Regions from separate parts of the Homo sapiens genome. Here region 1 is linked to region 2. The links are contacts of gene promoters, found by promoter capture Hi-C in blood cells and fetal thymus (Javierre and others, 2016). All regions are on one chromosome and are shown on one strand. Each heading gives the region's core, a stretch centred on a gene start or on the middle of the fragment in contact. The rest is flanking DNA. Distances are from core to core; before and after follow the strand shown. Region 1 overlaps RMI1 (RecQ mediated genome instability 1). Region 2 holds the start of QNG1 (Q-nucleotide N-glycosylase 1).

Region 1 (2,700 bases), core at 70-2,569, 46 kb after region 2:
CAAACAATTCTAACGAAAACATTCCCAGAGTTACAGATGTTCTAGATCCTGCATTAGGTCCTTCTGATGAAGAACTCTTGGCAAGTCTTGATGAAAATGATGAGCTTACAGCAAATAATGACACTTCCTCAGAACGATGTTTCACCACAGGTAGTTCCTCAAATACCATTCCCACAAGACAGTCAAGTTTTGAGCCAGAATTTGTTATTTCTCCAAGACCAAAAGAGGAACCATCAAACCTATCTATACATGTAATGGATGGAGAATTAGATGACTTTTCACTGGAGGAGGCCTTGCTTTTAGAAGAAACTGTCCAGAAAGAACAGATGGAAACTAAGGAATTGCAACCATTGACTTTTAACAGAAATGCCGATCGAAGTATAGAGAGATTTTCACATAATCCTAATACTACGAATAACTTTTCTTTGACTTGCAAAAATGGAAACAATAATTGGAGTGAAAAAAATGTATCTGAACAAATGACTAATGAAGACAAATCATTTGGTTGTCCATCTGTTAGAGACCAAAACAGGAGTATTTTTTCAGTTCATTGTAATGTACCCTTAGCCCATGATTTTACAAATAAAGAAAAGAACTTAGAGACAGATAATAAAATAAAACAAACCAGCAGTTCAGATAGCCATTCCTTAAATAATAAAATATTAAATAGAGAGGTGGTCAACTATGTACAGAAAAGGAATTCACAAATTTCTAATGAAAATGATTGTAATTTACAGAGTTGTTCTTTAAGATCATCAGAGAATAGCATTAATCTTTCTATTGCCATGGATTTGTATTCTCCACCCTTTGTCTATTTGTCTGTTCTAATGGCCAGCAAACCAAAGGAAGTTACAACAGTGAAAGTGAAAGCATTTATTGTAACCTTAACTGGAAATCTCTCAAGTTCTGGTGGTATTTGGAGTATAACTGCAAAGGTGTCTGATGGTACTGCATATCTAGATGTAGACTTTGTGGATGAAATACTTACTAGCTTGATAGGGTTCTCAGTACCAGAAATGAAACAGTCAAAAAAGGATCCTCTTCAATACCAAAAGTTCCTGGAAGGGTTGCAGAAATGTCAAAGAGATCTAATAGATTTGTGCTGTCTAATGACTATTTCATTTAATCCTTCCTTGTCTAAAGCAATGGTACTGGCATTACAAGATGTTAATATGGAACACCTTGAGAATCTAAAGAAGCGGTTAAATAAATAATTAAACTAAAATAGTATTAGGAACAATTAAAAACAACAAGGAAATATTTAGAATTTGTTCACAATTTTACTTATGATACTTTGTGTAAAAAGGAAAAATGAAATTTCATAGCTTATTTCAGTTTAATTTTAAAGTGTTTAATCATGTTTGTTATATGTGGAGCTTTTGAAAATAAGTTAATCTTTTTTTTTTTTTTTTTAATGTCAGGGTATTGCTCTGTTGCCCAGGCTAGAGTGCAGTGGCATGATCATAGGTTATTGCATCAACCTCTTGAGCTCAAGCGATCCTCCTGCCTTAGCCTCTTGAGTTGCTGGGACTATAGGCATGTACCACCATGCCCAGCTAATTTATAATTACTATTATTGTTTTGTAGGGACAGAGTTTTGCTATGTTGCCCAGATTGGTCTCAAACTCCTGGCCTCTCACTCCTGCCGTCATGGCCTCCAAAGTTTACTTTTTTTAAAAGTAACTGTTAGATGGAGGAATATGGTGACCCACTATTGTTGAGAAATTTGTTTTCCACTTGTCACGTCACATAAGATGATTGCTAAAATATTGTACTGGTGTTCGGTGGTGAGTCATATTTTTGAAAGTTAATAATTATAAATAGGTAATTTCCTTCTAATATGTTGGTACTGTCTATGGCCATACCACCCTGAACATGCCTGAGCTTGTCATAATATGTTGAGTACCCAAAAGATTTGTTTATATTGTTAATCTTAGGGAAAAAAAATTAAAATCCAGTAGATCAGAACATCAGGCTTTCAGATACAAATTGATTTACTGGTTTTTATTTTGCTGATTATAATATTTGGTATATTTAAGGTAATCTAGTTAACTAGATGCTATTTCATAGATTATATTGAATGATTTAAAACTTTATTTTCAAGGATAGTTTATTTTAAATGGCATATTGAAAACATCATTATTAAGATCCAGTAGGTAGGACATTTATTGGATTAAAATGAAGCATTTATCTATGTCTTTAGGTGTCATTGTTCCCTTTCTGAATTAGCTGTACATATAAGCCTTCCTTTGGTTTTAAGTACTGATTTTTTTTTAAAAAAAAGAGGGACTGTTTACCATTCTTCCACTGTGCTGTTATAAAGTTGTATTTGAAAGGTAATGTTGTTTTTATTAATCTTTTGTCTTAAAATAATTTAAAGTGCTTTGAATTTTAAAACATTAAACAAATCCTTAAATAACAAAATACATTGGTGTTTTATTTTATTGAAAATAATGTAACGAAATATCAGGAAGTAAGATAAATACATGTATGATGTATGATAATAGAAGTAGAAGAGAAAGATTTTAAAATATTTTCATTGTTGTATCAGGGTTCAAAGCACCAGGACACAGATATTGCTAATATATGCCCTAGTAATAATCTTGTCTATATACTTGCATAGCTTTTTAATAAGTGATCTGAATGGGATAGCTTTATCTTTCATTATCTTTTCATTAAATTTTCTCCTTCTATACTCTC
Region 2 (2,869 bases), core at 220-2,719:
GAATACATTTAAAAATTTAAGTTTTTATTCTTAAAATGAGTTCTGGAAGTAAAAGAGTTAACTCTGAGATGATTAAGACTTCTAAAATCCCCAACAGAAGCAACTCACCTCAAACAGAGTCACATCTCTGTAAGAAGGAAAACTTTCAACCACCAGGTGCATTAACTTCTGCGCACTATTCTCACTTTCTCGGACGCAGTTGAGAAAAGAGCCTCCAAACTTCTCCAGCAGAATTTTCCCGGTTTCATTGAGAATCCGATGCCTCTCTTCTACTAAAGGCATGGAAACGTCTGTGTCAGAACGAAGTATATTCCGAACCTGATCCAGGGTCACTGTCGCGTAGTACGAGGCACTAGTTATTGGTATCCCTTTAGTGAAAAAATAAAATTCAGAGGACCAATGTCATACTTCCATATGCATTAAACCCTTGCTTTTACAACATGGAATTAATATGAAACCAAATGAGTGGTATAGGAATGCACCAAAAGTGGAAGAATAAAAAATCTAAAGCAAAACTCATTTTCTACTTGTTCATCTGTACTTATTCACCCATTTCTAACTATTGCAATATTACATCAGATGTATTCTGAGTAAATTGCTTTATAACATCGGTCCTTTTGTTCTTCAGGTGTCATTCAAATGGCATTCTTTATAAAACTGACTTTTATGCTACTGTAACTTTTATGCTGCAATGATAAATATTAACATCATTTTCCACTAAAATATGCCCCTTTTCATACTTCTATTTTAAGCATAAGGACTTGCAACGAACTTCAGGTTCGCTTTCCATTATTCCATCTCCCAACCCGCTCCTTGGAACTCCCCTACACACACCCCAAGTAAATGGAAACCTCAAAGGCCGTTAGGTCCGATGGCAAGTATGGCACCAACCTTCGTCGAGGGCTCTGTTGACGGCGGCGCACAGGGACCAGTACCCACTGTATGTTTTCCCTCTGTACCTCACCACACACTTGTGCTCGTCCTGCTCCGACCAAAAGGAGAAGTTGAGCGTGTCTGTCACGAACACCCAGTTGACCGCGGCCTCGTCGGCCGCCCTGGGGTTCAGCTCATGAAGGGCTTTCCACCCCTCCACGCGCAGCTCTGGCCCCGCCGCCTTGGCCAGCAGCAGCTCTGCCACCCTCCGTACGCCTCCGCTGTCAATAAACACATCCCGACTGTTTTCTGCAATGAATTTAGAGGATTCCCTGGGATTTAGGAGCCCGTCCATTCTGCCCTTTGGGACCCGGCGGGCCAAACTCTTCCCGCCCTAGGCGGGTCAAGGTCCACTCTGCGCCTTGCGCTACTACGAACCGCGCGATCACAGGGCCTAAACAAGGTCCCGCCCTGCCAGGGAGTGGCACCGAGAACTTAGTGCAGCCAAGGTAAAGGTTCTCTCCCGCGGCGTTGCCCTGATTAGGAAACCAGAGAGACCCCGGGGCAGCTCGCTGGGCAGAGGCCGCAAGCACTTCCGGGAAAGCGGTCCCGTTCACGCCCTCTCGGGCGCGCTCTCAGGCTCCGCTTCCGGTTCCAAAGGTCTGGAAACTGCTAAGGGTCCGGCGTTCACCGGCCGTGAGTTGCCCACCCTGGGAGGTGCATGGCTTTGCCATGTTTTGCCTTTTCTCACCCCGCTTCGGACAGGTGGGACTCGAAGACGGCGACTCGCCGCCTTGCCCTGGGTCGCGATGCCCCCACCCCGCTCCCACCCCTCTCCTTTCCCGCAGCCTGAGCAAGACGCCTTCGGCAACGCCCCGCATCCGGGCTCCTTGGCCTCGAAGAGCATTATGGCCGTAGATCTGGGTGCTGAGGACTGAGCCACCCCCAGACTGCGACATGGGCGGCGGTGCCTCCTTCCCCAAGCCCCAGGGAGTGTTTTTTTGTTTGTTTTGTTTTTTGTTTTTGTTTAAGTGAATTCCTGGCCCATTTGGCCGAACGAACGTTAGGATTAGTTGGAAGGTTTGGAGAAATGGATGAGGAAACAAATGTGTTAAATTGTTAAATTAACCTTGTGTGCCTGGCAGTGTACTTAAGTACTAAATCTCACCTAGGCTGGGTCATGACGAAAGCGGCTATTGTGATCCCGCTTTTGCAAGTGAAGCTGAGTGGTTCATTGATTAACCCCCATCACAGCAATGGTTTGGGCTAGGATTTAAACCTTTGATAATTGAGCCCCCTAAATCGAGGGCACTTTATGAGCCAATCACCAGTGCCAACCATTCTGGTCAGTCAAATAGTGACTATATCAGTGGCCCTACTGAGAAGACATTAAAAATGAGGAAATAAGTGTCTCACAACTGCAAACTTACACAAGTACCTTATATTAGGAGAGAGGTGTAGAAGCCAATTTAGTGATGATCCAAATTTGACTGGTGATGAAGTTTTAGTATAAAGGTATGCATTTTTTTTCCTTTTGGAGACTTAAATCTCCATGGATAACGTTCACATCTTTGAAAATCACCTATTAAAAATAATCATCAGTACCCATCTCTAGTTACCGACAGGAAAATCTTGGTATTTTTGGAGGATTCGGAGCTTTTAAATTTGTTTGTTTGAGACAGAATCTCACCCTGTCGCCCAGGCTGGAGTGCAGTGGCATGATCTCAGCTCACTGCAACCTCCACCTCCCCGGTTCAAGTGATTCTCCCTGCCTCAGCTTCCCAAGTAGCTGGGATTATAGGTGTCAGCCACCACACCTGACTAATTTTTGTATTTTTAGTAGAGATGGGGTTTCCCTATGTGGGCCAGGCTGGTCTCAAACTCCTGACCTCAGGTAATCCACCCTCCTCGGCCTCCCAAATGGAGCTTTTTTTTTGAGACGGAGTCTCACTCTGTCATCCAGGCTGGAATGCAGTGGCACAGTCTCGGCTCACTG

Evidence for each region. The method cuts DNA at HindIII sites, captures the fragments that hold promoters and counts their contacts. A CHiCAGO score of 5 or more calls a contact.
Region 1: a fragment that was not itself captured here is called in contact with the fragment with the promoter of QNG1 in region 2 in 2 of 17 cell types (naive CD8 T cells and neutrophils); the score reaches 5.3 in naive CD8 T cells.

The regions. Positions count from the first base shown.
Region 1 is chr9:84,001,651-84,004,350 of GRCh38, forward strand. It overlaps RMI1 (RecQ mediated genome instability 1), which reads left to right. Exons shown (of 3, transcript NM_001358291.2): 3 at 1-2,424. The coding sequence ends at 1,214. Among named protein-coding and RNA genes, the nearest start is that of RMI1, 22 kb to the left of the region's middle. The HindIII fragment of the contact is 3,800 bases long and covers 1-2,700 here.
Region 2 is chr9:83,955,273-83,958,141 of GRCh38, forward strand. It overlaps QNG1 (Q-nucleotide N-glycosylase 1), which reads right to left and starts at 1,470. Exons shown (of 4, transcript NM_032307.5): 1 at 892-1,470; 2 at 109-368. The coding sequence starts at 1,228. The HindIII fragment of the contact is 8,080 bases long and covers 1-2,869 here.